Linked DNA regions of Homo sapiens: regions 2 and 3 are each linked to region 1. Evidence: promoter capture Hi-C in 16 types of primary human blood cells and fetal thymus (Javierre and others, 2016). All regions are on one chromosome and are shown on one strand. The core of a region is centred on a gene start or on the middle of the fragment in contact, and the rest is flanking DNA. Distances in the headings are between cores, read along the strand shown. Region 1 holds the start of PHOX2B (paired like homeobox 2B). Region 2 overlaps UCHL1 (ubiquitin C-terminal hydrolase L1). Region 3 has its middle 36 kb from the start of UCHL1.

Evidence for each region. The method cuts DNA at HindIII sites, captures the fragments that hold promoters and counts their contacts. A CHiCAGO score of 5 or more calls a contact.
Region 2: a contact is called between a fragment that was not itself captured here and the fragment with the promoter of PHOX2B in region 1, in 2 of 17 cell types (M2 macrophages and endothelial precursors). The highest score is 6.7, in M2 macrophages.
Region 3: a fragment that was not itself captured here is called in contact with the fragment with the promoter of PHOX2B in region 1 in 2 of 17 cell types (monocytes and M2 macrophages); the score reaches 5.9 in monocytes.

The regions. Positions count from the first base shown.
Region 1 is chr4:41,746,495-41,751,303 of GRCh38, forward strand. PHOX2B (paired like homeobox 2B) reads right to left here and starts at 2,231. Exons shown (of 3, transcript NM_003924.4): 1 at 1,876-2,231; 2 at 855-1,042. The coding sequence starts at 2,116. PHOX2B-AS1 (PHOX2B antisense RNA 1) reads left to right here and starts at 1,855. Exons shown (of 4, transcript NR_187403.1): 1 at 1,855-2,092. The HindIII fragment of the contact is 1,442 bases long and covers 1,600-3,041 here.
Region 2 is chr4:41,266,026-41,270,834 of GRCh38, forward strand. It overlaps UCHL1 (ubiquitin C-terminal hydrolase L1), which reads left to right. Exons shown (of 9, transcript NM_004181.5): 9 at 1,962-2,430. The coding sequence ends at 2,048. Among named protein-coding and RNA genes, the nearest start is that of UCHL1, 12 kb to the left of the region's middle. The HindIII fragment of the contact is 3,612 bases long and covers 407-4,018 here.
Region 3 is chr4:41,290,909-41,295,717 of GRCh38, forward strand. No RefSeq gene overlaps it. Among named protein-coding and RNA genes, the nearest start is that of UCHL1, 36 kb to the left of the region's middle. The HindIII fragment of the contact is 536 bases long and covers 2,506-3,041 here.

The DNA of each region.
Region 1 (4,809 bases), core at 981-3,480:
GCTGTGCATTTTCGGAGAAACTTTCTTAGGGGGAGTGAGCACGCCAGGGACATGAAGGCTTGCGGCAGAGTTTAAAAAGCCGCAGGTCCCAGAAAGACCCGAAAAGGGAAGGCCTTATTTTGGTGGGCCTCTGTTCAGTCGGCTTCTTGAGCAAGCCCCGAGCTCGCCATTCACCCCTAAGCCTAAGTTCTAAAGTTAAACTCTAATTGGTAGAAGGAAAAGGGATCCTCTCTGGGTTTGCTCCGCTGCCCATCCCCGGCCTTTGAGCCTGGAAGAGCGTGCGATGGTGCGCACCGCTTCTCGGTCGGGGGCTCACCCAGAGAGGCGCTGTGGCCAACTCGTGAGCGCACCTGTGTTTAACAGGTTGGAGTAAGTCATGGTTCTTGACCTTCATGAAGTCACAGACCCTTTGCAAATCTGATGCAAGTCACAGTTTCCGGGAAAATGAACCTATATGCCATGGGGCCAGGTTAAAAGCACTTGAGTTAGGAGGCATTTTTTTGGGGGGCGGGAGGGGAGAAGGAAAAACTTATAATACGGGAGCAAAGTCTGCACACCTTCCACCACAGGCACTTCCTGTCCCCGAAATTGCATCGCTCATCCACGTCCCAAGGCCCCCCATGTCTCTGCTCGGGTGGGAAACACTTCGCAACTGTAAATAAAATGCCAAGAGCGTGCGCTCTAAGCCTCTCTCGAACGCACAGCCACACCAAATCCAGTATTTCTGATCGGCCATGGGGCCCTAGGTCCTTCTCACTCGAGGCTCCAGGACTTCGAATTTCACCAGCCGCCCCTCACCCCACACCTCCCCGGACCAGTGCGGCGGAGCGGGGTCGGTTTCCAGGCGCGCGTACCTGGACTCGCGCCTCTGTGAGGTCGATCTTCAGGGCCAGCTCCTCCCGAGTGTAGATGTCGGGGTAGTGAGTCTCCGCGAAGACCCTTTCCAGCTCTTTGAGCTGGGCACTGGTGAAAGTGGTGCGGATGCGCCGCTGCTTGCGCTTCTCGTTGAGGCCGCCGTGGTCCGTGAAGAGTTTGTAAGGAACTAGAGTATGACAGAGGAGACAGAAAGTGAGCAAATCAGCCGGCAGCTCGCCGGCCGTGGAGCTAGAATGTGAGGACTCCAAGGTCAGGTCATACGGCAGCCGCTACCTACACCCGCGCGAGAGAGTTGCCGAGAGAAGCTGCGGGAAGAAACCGAGGAAATTTGTTATCTGCGGAAACCTGGGCTCAAACTTCGGGCTTGGCGGAGTCCTTTCTGGCACAAGCGCCTTTGGGTGGATTGAAACAGCGCGATGTGACGGACTTGAGATAGTGCTTTCAGCAGGAAAAAACCAGAGAGGAAAAAAATCCAAAAACATCAGTCGGAATATCAGGGAGCCAGGAAAGAAGTTACCAAACAGTCCCACTTTGGGAACTTTTCAATTCTCAGAAAGTTGACCCGGCTCAAAAGTTGGGGGAAAGAGCTGCAAAAAAATAATAATAAATTAAAGAAATAATCATAAAAATGACCAGCCAAAGAGGTGTGAGCCGCTGTCGGTTCTTAAAAAAAGAGACACTGCCAGTAATGAGCTTTACTCTTTGTTATTTAATTATTTTCTAAGCTTTACGTCTCATCGCAAAGTAAATAAATTATGCCTATCATTTTGGCAGCTTAAGATAATTTTGTTGGCGGTTCGGGTGTGACTAGGATAGTGTAACCCTGTAAGTGAATTACCCCTCCCTGCAATCGCTTCTAACGTGATAAATTCTTTCATTTGTGTAAGCAAATTTCGTTTGGTAAATACTAAACACATTTCCATTTTCAAATGCAATCAAGGCTTCCTATATACGGGCGGAAAGGCGGCTTCCTCCGCTGAGAAAGCTGAAGGTCCTTACCTGCGGCGTACGGACTGCTCTGGTGGTCCCTGAGGGTGCCCAGGCTGCAGGATCCCGGCGTGAGGGAAGGGCAGCCGGACGTGGCCCCAAAAGTGGTCCTTATCGGGTTATACTGGAAGCCACTGGCCTGGCTGCAGGAACTGAAGTCAGCATAGGCTGAAGCCAGGCTCGAGGTGTCCATCCCAGCCATACAGGACTCGTAGGCAGAGGAATTGAGGTAAGAATATTCCATTTTATACATTGAAAAGGTTCTGGATGGCTCAGCCAAGTGGAAAAATGAAATAAAAGATGGATATGGAGAAGGTGGCTGGAGTGGGGAGATGTGCACAGCTCAACGCCTGCCTCCAAACTGGCCTCCTTACTACCAGCAGAGCCTAGTTTTATGAAAAAGCCTCCTATGAGATGCCTTGTCTGAGGTCTCTAGAGCATATAGTCCTCATAATAAACTTGGCTCTTTCCACTTGGACAATAGCAAAGCGGTTGGTCTTATTGCTGGCGCTTTTTACATGACAATAACTCATCCGTCTATTGGGCTGGCACTGGGGAACTGAGCTGTCCAACCTCCCTATCATTGATTCCTGCATCTCTAATTAGAATTTAATACCACACCATTACGCACCGAGCCCCTGATCCTCCCTTCTAACCAGCTCCCTGCCCTTTAATTCAATCACACTACTTGGAAATAATGAAAGTTGGGTGACGATTCTCCCTGATCCAATTTCCCCGAGCTTTTAAGCCTTTTTAACTGATCATATACCTTAGGCATAAATTGAGATAGTGTGTGTGTTTTCCCCCTTCTTCGTCCTCTTCTTTTTTTCCCCCTCGGTTAGGGAGAAGAAACCTTGATGTCATAGAAAACCTGTTTTGTAAGAGTGTTACACGCTCAATTTAACAACAAGCCTACCCCCCGAAGTGCATGAAATGTTATAAAGGACTGGGACATTGGCAAGACTCAGGCGCCCTGTAACATAGAGTAAGTGGGCCAAGGGGGTTTATGTGAACGATAAGCGGATTTCTTTAAAAATACACCTGGTAGAGGGGGTTAAAAAAAAGAGAGACAGAGAGAAAGCATCTTATAAATTGCATTTCTTCTTGCAGCTAAATGTGCTTTCAAGAGACTCAGGGTATACAGCCACTTAAAAATAATAATAAAAAAATCTGAGGAAAGCTTTCGAATGTGAAACATCTGGATTCTCGACCGTTGTGTTCTTTGCTCTCAGTTCTGTCTGTTTGCATTAGCGCAAGCCTTGGTTGGTTTGAGTTTCTGTGAGGTTGTTCGTTTTAATTACACCATAACTGGCAAGCGAGCATGAAGTGTACCCAAATGTATCTCCTCTTTCATCTCTTTCGGGCGCTCTCCCTCTTTCTCGCCTCTTTTTTTTTTTCAGGTGCCCACAATCCTCCACAGACCCGGGGATTGTGTCTGTTTGCCTTTTAGGTTTGCGGACTGTAGTGAGGGAAATTCTTGCCATGTAAATGCCCAGGCAAGGGCTCCAGGTCGGGCACCTTTCTTGTCCGATTCCTCAGGCTTTTGGGTGCTGGCAGCGAGGCACAGACAAAGGAGCGAGCAGTGATTTGTGGACTTCAGTGGCCCCATGATTTAAGCGGAGGGTAATTTTCATTTGGTTTGTTAGGCCCTAGCAGAATAAGGGAAACTATTTCATTAAATCCTTCCTCTCGGTGGACAAGAGGGGGAAAGCTTAGCTGAATCGCCGTGTGGTGTAAACAAACCCTGGATATTTTATATGAATTAAATGTGTAGATAATTAGTTTTATTGCATTCATTACCCCCTTTATGTGCTCTGTAACAAGTCAGTAATTAAAGTAACAAACTCATAAAGTCTTTATAGGGGCATTTAGGCGTTCAGTGTTTGCCAAACTAAGTGGTTTAATTCGATGCTAGTGCCGGGGAGTGGATGGGCTCCCGCTCTCCCCTGCCACCGTGTTTTATTGCGCACTAAACTGCCGCGGACGCAGTAATGGATTAAACGGGGACAGCGGTCCCCCAGCCTTGTGCTTCTTTGCAGGGTGAGTTTCAGGCTCGTTTCAGGTGGTTGCAAATCCTCGGGGCGTGAGGAAGCGCTAAAGTCGGGAGTGCAGGGAGCCGGACCTACCGAGGATCCTGGTGATAGTTTTATGGGGAGGGCTGATAGTTTTATTGCAGTTGTATGTTGTACAATGCGTATTTGATAAAGAAGGGCCCTTGGTGACCAGTGTGCACTTTTTTGTGCACGGGGGTGAAATGAAAATAAATGTATACAAGGTTTTACTGCGGCGGGAAACAAATTGCAACGCTCTAAATGGTTTTTCTTTATGGTCACCAGACAAGAGGAGAAAAGGGATGCAAACATCTGTCTTCAGTCCCCTAAACCTAAAGGCCAGCAAAGACGGATGCGAATCCAAGTGCTATTACAGCGGAGATTTGTCTTTATTTATCCCGCTCTCATGAATATGAATTTGCATTTGGGCCGGGAGGTGGCTGTATCCCTTTGGACTCCACACATGGAATTTCCCCCACGCTCATCCCCCTCCCCAACCACTTAAGGGAGGTGGGGGATAGGTTGTCAAGCACAAGGCTGAGATCGTCCAAGTTTCTTCGTTCCCTCGGATTTCGGGTTGGGGGATGTGCTTGCTGGTTTTCTGAACGCAACTCTGCCGCCGAGGCCTGCACTCAGGAGATGTGGATGTAGGGAGCACAGGCCGGGGTGTCCACCGCCAGCCCGCTCCTCTGCTGTAGGGTTTAAGCGCGTTTCCCTGCAGAAGAGAGTGACCAGGGGTGGTCAGGAGGTGATGAATTTCGGCTCCAAGGCCTATTTTTGACAGTAACCAGGTTCACACCCCGCTTGGCACTAGAGCCTTACTGCACCTGGGGTGTGTCTCCGCGTGGTGCAGAGCGCGCGCTCTACTCCGGAAGCTACGGCCGGGTGCCGCGCC
Region 2 (4,809 bases), core at 963-3,462, 480 kb before region 1:
TGTCCCACATAGGATACAAGTGTCACATGAGTAGAATTTATAAGGTGTGGGGAAGGTAAAATTTTTGTATAGAGATGGGGCGGGGAGGGACTCACTATGTTGCCCAGGCTGGTCTTTAACTCTTGGGCTCAAGTGATCTTCCTGCCTCAGCTTCCCAGAGTGCTGGGATTATAGGCGTGAGCCACAGTACCTGGCTAAAACTTTTTTTTTTTTTTTTTTTTTAACTTTTCTAATTAGAACCTTATTTAAAATTAAAAGAGTTTCTAAATTAAACCAGCATTTTAGTTAAAATTCTTACCCTAAGTAAGGCTGGTTCTATATGGTTAAGGATGTTTTAGGTTGTCTAAATGTCACACTAAATTATTAAACTGGTTAGAATATACATGCACTTAACCCAAATATCTTAAGCTTGAATGAATTAGGTCCCTGCACGTTAGCTCTATAGAAGATGGTTATTCTCTTTAAAGGTACATCTTTAATAGTGAAATCAATATTGTATGTCCTATAGTAAGGTCAATTCAGGGAAGACAGGTCTGGAATACTGATATATTAAAAAACTTGGTAGAGGATAAAATGTTGATGTCAATCCAGATACTCTTTGGTTGCTTTTTTTGAGAAAGGGTCTCGCTGTGTCATTCAGGCTGGAGTGCAGTGGTGCAATCATGGCTTACTGTAGCCTTGAAGTCCTTGCTCAAGCAATCCTCCCACCTAAGTCTTCTGAGTAGCCAGGACTAGAAGCGCACACCACCATGCCCAGCTAATTTTTAAATTTTTAGTAGAGATTTTGCCCAGGCTGGTCTTGAACTCCTGAGCTCAAGTCATCCGCTGCCTCAGCTTCCCAAAGTGCTGAGATTGCAGGCCTGAGCTGTGTCTGGCCCAAACTCATTGAGTTGGTGATTTCTAAATTTTAGGAGTGATGTTTCATTACCATTCTGTATCATAGAGCATTCCTTTTCTCCTTCAGGGTCTTATACTATGGTTTACAGAGCTATCTTTCCACTGGGCTTTTTTACAGATTGAACAGAGTAATATTTTTGATCCCAAAACAATTATATCCTAGAAGTTGGTAAATAACACTGGGATCAGTTTCCTGTTACCAGTCTTTGTCATCTAGATCTTAGAAGTAGTAACGCATGTCACTTCACCATCAATCTCTAAGGTTCCATGCTTGTCTGTACCTAGAATATCAGGTAAACGTTAAGGCTGTTTTTTTTTTTGTTTGTTTGTTTGTTTTCTGAGACGGAGTCTCGCTCTGTCGCCCAGGCTGGAGTGTAGTGGCGCGATCTCGCCTCACTGCAAGCTCCGCCTCCTGGGTTCACGCCATTCTCCTGCCTTAGCCTCTCAGAGTAGCTGTGACTGCAGATGCCCGCCATCATGCCCGGCTAATTTTTTTTGTATTTTTAGTAGAGACGTGGTTTCACCATGTTGGCCAGGATGGTCTCTATCTCCCAGCCTCGTGATCCGCCTGCCTCAGCCTCCCAAAGTGCTGGGATTACAGGCGTGAGCCACTGCGCCCGGCCACGTTAAGGCTGTTTTTTAAAATGTTTATTTGAAAGACAATTTTCTTTATTCCAGGAATTTCTGAGTTACAACTTTTCACTTATGCCACCTTATGGAAGAAAGATCAATTTCCAATCTTTAGATTTGAGGAAAATAACGTTCATAGTTGTGTTTTTGTTGTTGGGTTTTTTTGTTTTTGTTTTTTTTAACTTTTCCAAAACCAGGTACAAAGTGAGAGAAGCACAAAACCATTTGGTGGAAGTGATAAGTCAAATCCATGATGTAACCTTGTCTTTCCCATCACCTGATTTTTTGCTTTAAGCCCTGGTTTTCAAATTAATGATGGAATTAAAGTTGATGAGGGTGAACTTTGAGCATTAATAGACCTTGGAGCCTTTCCCTATGTGACTTTCATTTTGAGCTCTTGCTGTTTGGATTTTAATGACATTTCTCCTTTCCAGGACGCTGCCAAGGTCTGCAGAGAATTCACCGAGCGTGAGCAAGGAGAAGTCCGCTTCTCTGCCGTGGCTCTCTGCAAGGCAGCCTAATGCTCTGTGGGAGGGACTTTGCTGATTTCCCCTCTTCCCTTCAACATGAAAATATATACCCCCCCATGCAGTCTAAAATGCTTCAGTACTTGTGAAACACAGCTGTTCTTCTGTTCTGCAGACACGCCTTCCCCTCAGCCACACCCAGGCACTTAAGCACAAGCAGAGTGCACAGCTGTCCACTGGGCCATTGTGGTGTGAGCTTCAGATGGTGAAGCATTCTCCCCAGTGTATGTCTTGTATCCGATATCTAACGCTTTAAATGGCTACTTTGGTTTCTGTCTGTAAGTTAAGACCTTGGATGTGGTTTAATTGTTTGTCCTCAAAAGGAATAAAACTTTTCTGCTGATAAGATAGCCACAGCTGATTCTCATTTTCTTTTACCCTCTCCTCAATATGTCAGGTTATTTTGGTAGTAATATATGAATGTCTTCCACATAAGTAACTCATACAGTGCTGCCAAGAATTACCATAAAAGCATTGGTTTGATGTGTCTTTGGATTTTTTTTTGCATTTGTATTCCCTATGTATACCTGTAGAAACTAATTTTTAAAGATTTTTAAATAGGCAAATTTTGTAGCACAATTTTAGACTTATAAAAATATTGAAGACAAAAAGAAAATACTGGACATTGTAGAAGTCCCATAAACCCACCACCCAGTTTCCTCTATTGTATTAAGCGGGGTTTTCTAGAGGACAGAACTAATAGGATATATGTATGTATAAAGGGGAGTTTATTAAGGAGTGTTGACCCACACGATCACAAGGTAAAGTCCCATGGTAGGCCCTCTGCAAGCTGAGGAGCAAGGAAGCCAGTCCGAGTCTCAAAACCTCAAAAGTAGGAAAACCAATAGTGCAGCCTTCACTCTATAGTCAAAGGTCCAAGAGTCCCAAAGCTGAAAAACTTGGGAGTCTGATATTCCAGGGGAGGACACATCCAGCACAGGAGAAAGGTGGAGGTGGGAGACTGGGCCAGTCTAGTCTTCCCATGTTCTTTTGCCTGCTTTCATTTTGGCTGCACTGGCCGCTGATTAGATTGTGCCCACGCAGATTGAGGGTGGGTCTGCCTTTCCCAGTCCACTGACTCAAGTGTTAATCTCCTTTAGCAACACCCTCACAGACACCCAGGAAAAGTACAATACCTTCAATCCAAGTTGATGCTCAATATTAACCATCACAGTTATTGACATATCGATACACTGCTATTAAGTCCATAGCTTGTTTAGATTTCCTGGCTGTTTTCCCTAATGTCCTTTGTTTTAGGATCCCATCCGGGATCCCACATGACTGTTAGTTGCCATGTCTCACCAGGCTCCTTTGGGCTTTGTCAGTTTCTCAGACTTCTCTTCTCCTTGGATGACCTTGACAAATTGGAGGAGTACCATCAAGTATTTTGTAAGGTGCCCTCTATTGGGATTTGTCTAATGTTAGACTAGGGTTATGGGTTTTGGGGAGGAAGACCACAGAGGCAAAGCGTTGTTTTCATCATATGCTACAAAGGGTACATAAGCATAATTTATCACTGATTCTCACCTCTTACCTGGCTGAGGTCGTGTTTGAAAGACTTCACCATAAACTCACCCCCACTGCCTTTTCCATGCTGTACTCCTAGGAAGTCACCATGCAAAGCCCACACTTAAGGAGTGGAGGTGTATGTTCTATCTCCTTGAGGGCCAAGTATCTATATGAATTATTTGGAATTCTTTTGGGAGAGTTGTCTTTTTTCTCCTATGTAACCATTTTTATCAGTATGAACTCATATCATATACTGTGGATTTATGTTATAATCCAGTACTACCTGTTGCCCACATTGTTCTGCTTTAGTTGTTGGGAGCTCTTTCAGTTGGCTCCTATGTTGCTTTGACATACCCCAATCAGTGTAGCATGTTTTGTTTTTCTTAGCAATTCCTTACTGTCTAGAAATTAGTTTTTTTTTTTAAAAAAGCAAAAGTCTTTGGCATTTGTTGTTAAGCTTTACTTTATAGATCAATGTGCCCTTGTTTTATAGATAAGGATACACTATTATGTAATGTATAGGTTTTCATTAAATATTAAAGGAGGACGTCTGTTCTCAACAATGGACGTTGAATGTAACAGTTCACTTCCAGTTACACAAAATGAGGGAAGCAGGGAAGAAACCCAATGCTTCCTGCCTATACTGTGATCCTCACAAAAGGGCTCTGTCCTGTCTGGTGCCAGGAATCCAGATAACTTGGGTCTCAACTGCCTTATTCACAGTTCTCTAAGCCCTGATTATGGTGGTAATATTCCTGATTCCAACTTTTTTTTTTTGGGGGGGGGGCATAATTTACAGAAAATTTATTCATGTATTCAAATTATCTGCAATTTCTTTTTTTTAAAAATTATTATACTTTAAGTTTTAGGGTACATGTGCACAACATGCAGGTTTGTTACATATGTATACATGTGCCATGTTGGTGTGCTGCACCCATTAACTTGTCATTTAGCATTAGCTATATCTCCTAATGCTATCCCTCCCCCCTCCCCCAACCCCACAACAGTCCCCGGTGTGTGATGTTCCCCTTCCTGTGTCCATGTGTTCTCATTGTTCAGTTCCCACCTATGAGTGAGAACATGCGGTGTTTGGTTTTTTGTCCTTGTGATAGTTTGCTGAGAATGATGGTTTCCAGCTTCATCCATGTCCCTACAAAGGACATGAACTCATCATTTTTTATGGCTGCATAGTATTCCATGGTGTATATGTGCCACATTTTCTTAATCCAGTCTATCATTGTTGGAC
Region 3 (4,809 bases), core at 1,524-4,023, 460 kb before region 1:
TTCCGATCTTGGGAAATGCCACCACTCACCTCCCAAGACTTGAAACTTGGACTCTCTTCTCTCATCTCCATACCCCATCTTAATTATTTTCCTCCCAAATATACTTAAAGTGTGTCTCTTCCTCCCATCTCCACTGATACTTCCTCAGGTCAGACTCTTGGCATTTCTTACCTAGATTATTGCAACAACCTTTTTTTCTCATTTTTAAATATTATTAAAAATTTTTAAATTGTAATAAAATATATACAACATAAAATTTGCCATCTTCCCCATTTTAAGTGTACAGTTCGGTGGCATTAAATAAATTCACATCATTGTACAGCCATCACCACTGTTCATCTCCAAAACTCTTATCAGCTTGCAAAACTGAAATTCTGTACCCATTAGACACTAACGCCCAATTCCCTTCCCTCCCCCAGTCCTTGGCAACCACTATTCTACCTTCTGTCTCTATGAATTTGATCACTCTAGGTACATCATACAAGTAGGATCATACAGTATTTATCCTTTTGTGACTGGCTTGTTTAACTTAGCACAATGTTCTAAGGCTTCACCCATGTTGTAGCATGTGTCAGAATTTCCTTTCTTTTTATTTATTTATTTATATATTTATGTTTATTTATTTATTTTTTTGAAATGGAGTCTCGCTCTGTTGCCCAGGCTGGAGTGCAGTGGCGTGATCTCCACTTGCTGCAACCTCCACCTCCCAGGCTCAAGTGATTCTCCTGCCTCAGCCTCTCGAGTAGCTGGGACTATAGGCGCACGCCACCATGCCCGGCTAATTTTTGTGTTTTTAGTAGAGATGGGTTTCACCATATTGGCCAGGCTGGTCTCAAACTCCTGACCTCGTGATTTGCCTGCCTCGGCCTCCCAAAGTGCTGGGATTACAGGTGTGAGCTACCGTGCCCGGCCCAGAATTTCCTTTCTTTTTAAAGTTGAAACAATATTCCATTGCATGCACAGACTATACCACATTTTGTTTATCCATTCATCTGCTGATGGACATTTGGGTTATTACCAACTTTTGATGCTTGTGAATAATGCTGCTATGAATATGGGTATACAAATATTAATACCTCTTTGAGATCCTGTTTTTAAATTCCTTATGCCCATAAGTGGAATTCCTGGATATTTGGAAGTTCTATTTTTAATTAGAAAAATAGTTTTTGAGGAACTGTCATATAGTATGTTTCCCATAGCAACTGCACCATTTTACATTTCCACTGGCAATGCATAAGGATTCCAATTTCTCCACATTCTCACCAACACTTATCTTCTGTTTTTTTTTTTTTGAAAAATGTTAAAGTAATCATCCTAGTGGGTATGGAGGTGCTATCTCATTGTGGTTTTGATTTGCGTTTTCCTAATGATTAGTGATATTGAGCATCTTTATATGTCATACATAAAAAGAATGAAAAGGTAACCTATACAATGAGAGAAAATATTTGCAAATCATATGTCTGATAAAGGGTTAAAATATATAGGGTTAATTCACTCATCTATAAAGGGTTAATTCACTCATATAGATGTCTTTTCTTTTCTTTTCTTTTCTTTTTTTTTTTTTTTTTTTTTGAGACGGAGTCTTGCTCTGTCACCCAGGCTGAAGTGCAGTGGTGCGATCTCGGCTCACTGCAAGCTCCACTTCCTGGGTTCATGCCATTCTCCTTCCTTAGCCTCCTGAGTAGCTAGGACTACAGGTGCCCACCACAACTCCCGGCTAATTTTGTTTTTGTATTTTTAGTAGAGACAGGGTTTCACCATGTTAGCCAGGATGGTCTCGATCTCCTGACCTCATGATCCTCCCACCTCGGCCTCCCAAAGTGCTGGGATTACAGGCATGAGCCACTGTGCCTGGCCTATAGATGTCTTTTCTAAAAAAAGAAAGATAAAGGGTTAATTCACTCATATAGATGTCTTTTCTAAGAAAGAAAGAGAGAGAGAAAGAGAAAGAAAAGAAAGAAAGAAAGAAAGAAAGAAAGAAAGAAAGAAAGAAAGAAAGAAAGAAAGAAAAGAAAAGAAAAGAAAAGAAAAGAGAAAAGAAAAGAGGGAGAGAAGGAGGGAGGAAAGAAAAGAAAAGAAACCAGAATGCCAGAATGGCATAGAGCCATGTGAGGTTGCACTTAATGGACTGCAGAGTAGCAGCACGAGAGTCCCCCATGGGATGCATTAACAAGGCTTTCTGGAGGGCAGGAATCCTGAGTGGTCCCAAACTTGACTGTACATTGTAATCAACTGGAATGCCTTAAGGAGTCCCAATGTGTGGGTTCCACCACAGGGATTCTCATTTATTCAGTTGGGGTACAGCCTGGGCATCTGTATGTTTTAGAAGTTCCCAGATGAGAGATGAAAGTGTTCTGGAACTAGACAGTGGTGATGGCTGTATATTCTGAACGTATTAGAACAGATTATATGTCACTAATGGTAAATGCTATGTTTGTGTATTTTACCACACACACAAAAGTTCCCTGATGATGCTATGGGCAAGACAAAGTTGACAATCAACAAAGCTTTGTTGCCATTTCTCAGATAATAAGAATCAAGTGGAAGTCTTTGTTAAATAAATAGATTGCCAGACCTCAAAGCCAGGAAGTCTCATTCTGTTTATCTGGATGGGGGCAAAGGAATCTGTGCTTTCAAATAGAACACCAGGTAATTCTTCTTTCTTTTTTTGAGATGGAGTCTCTGTTGCCCAGGCTGGAGTACAGTGGCATGATCTCGGTTCACTGCAACCTCTGCCTCCCAGGTTCAAGCGATTCTCCTGCCTCAGCCTCCCGAGTAGCTGAGACTACAGGCCCGTGCCACCACACCCGGCTAATTTTTTTAGTAGAGACGGGGTTTCACGGTGTTAGCCAGGATGGTCTCAAAATTCTGACCTCGTGATCCACCTGCCTCAGCCTCCCAGAGTGCTGGGATTACAAGCATGAGCCACCGTGCCCGGCCAACACCAAGTAATTCTTATACAAGAGAAGTTTGGGAAACCCAGATATACCCAGTGCTTCCCAAGCCTGCTCAATTGTAAGAATCACCAGGGGATCCTGTTAAGCTTCCAAATCTATTGATAGGCCCATCTAGACTTTTTTTTTTTTTTTTTTGAGACAGAGTCTCACTCTATCACCCAGGCTGGAGTGCAGTGGTGCAACCTTGGCTCACTGCAACCTCCACCTTCTGGGTTCAAGCGATTCTCCTGCCTCAGCCTCCCAAAGTGCTAGGATTACAGGTGTGAGCCACTGAGCCTGGCCCATCCAGACCTATTAAACTTGGATCTCCAGAGGAAGGCTGGGACTTGGTGGACTTAATATGCTACCCAGCTAATTCTCCTGACCAGGCACACTTGAGAAACACCATCTAGTCTAGCCCTCAGTGTTGGCTATTCTACAAAACCTCCTTAAAGAAAAAATCAAATTCCTTACTCCCAGAGATGCTAATTCTGGGTGGGGCCCAAGTATCCAAAGTTTATTATTTTTTGTTTTATAAGCTACCATCCCTGAGTTTGAGGAATAACTGAAATGAATCACTGTTGCAGCCATTCTTTTGGAAAGCAAATTGTGCTCATGTTTCATGGTTACTTATTGAGTCCTTGAGCATGTGCAGTTCTACACAGCAGTATATCCAGAAGCTGAGAATTAGAAAGGTAAGGGTGTCTCAGCCTGCTGTAAGGGAGATGGCTGTGCTTTAGTCAGGAGTAGTCTGAGGAAGCCTTCTGGTGCAGCATAACTCAGCAGGTTTGGAGTGCAGGTGCACAACTCCACACAGTATTTAACCATGCCATGTCAGGCACATTATGTAACCACGCCACGTAAGGTGCATTAGGTGATCACCCATGTGAGCTCATGCTTGGCTTGGAGTCACTATTGCCTGTAAAAGGTATAATTACCCTGCTGACACTGTACATATGGCTCATGCCCAGGGAGAGAATGTACATACAGCTCGTGCCCACAGCTCATGCCTAGGCTCGCTTGTGCCAGAGAGAGGGTAAAAGCCATGTTGAAACTGTCTACAATTCCTCGAATGTTTTTCCAGCTACCTGCCACCCCACTGACTCCCCTCGGACCTCAGTTAGAACCTAACACCTGCCCGTGAAGTAGCTGGGAACAAGTCATGGAAGCAGGAAGAAAAGGATTGAGATGCACAAAGAGTAAAGAAAGAGAATCCTCGGTGACAGCTTGCTGTCATGTGGGGCGAAACAGAGATCCCTGGTGAGCTTTGACATCTCCTCCAAGGGGCCTGGTTGGCAGAGTGTCCAGGGTTGGGTCTTGGGGGAAGTCTCTGGTGGGCTGTGTCCATTCTCTATCTATCTGGATCCTAAGCTAATTAAAGGAAGCTGCTGTAGCCTTCCTCCAAGCCAAGGAGCTCTATGATTGCTTCTGACCAGAATATGGTTCTACTTGAGGCAGAAAACCCTTAAGAAGATGAATTCTTTTCCAGTATCTTGGGCTTGATAGGAAAATACACGAGTCTGACAGTCAATTAGAATGAATCAGAATTCATTTATTTCAGTAATCTTCATATCTGTACAAGGCAATCCTCTATTTTACTCTGCCTATCCAAGCGTTTTCAGTTGTCTCCTATGGTTGTTATAAGCTTTTTCTCTTTGTCTTGCCAACATCCATATCATCTCTTCTTATGTTGAGAGTATAGGGAGAAACAGACACAGGCATGGCTCCTTGAATAGCCCTCCCAGAGGATCAAGTGCATGACAGATCGAGGCAGAAAGAAGCGTAGTGAAAGTAGTGACCTAGAGGGTGCTGCTTATCTGGCTCTGCTGGCTCTGACCCCTGGAAACTTGGCGGCTGTGGTCAGGTAGGGTTC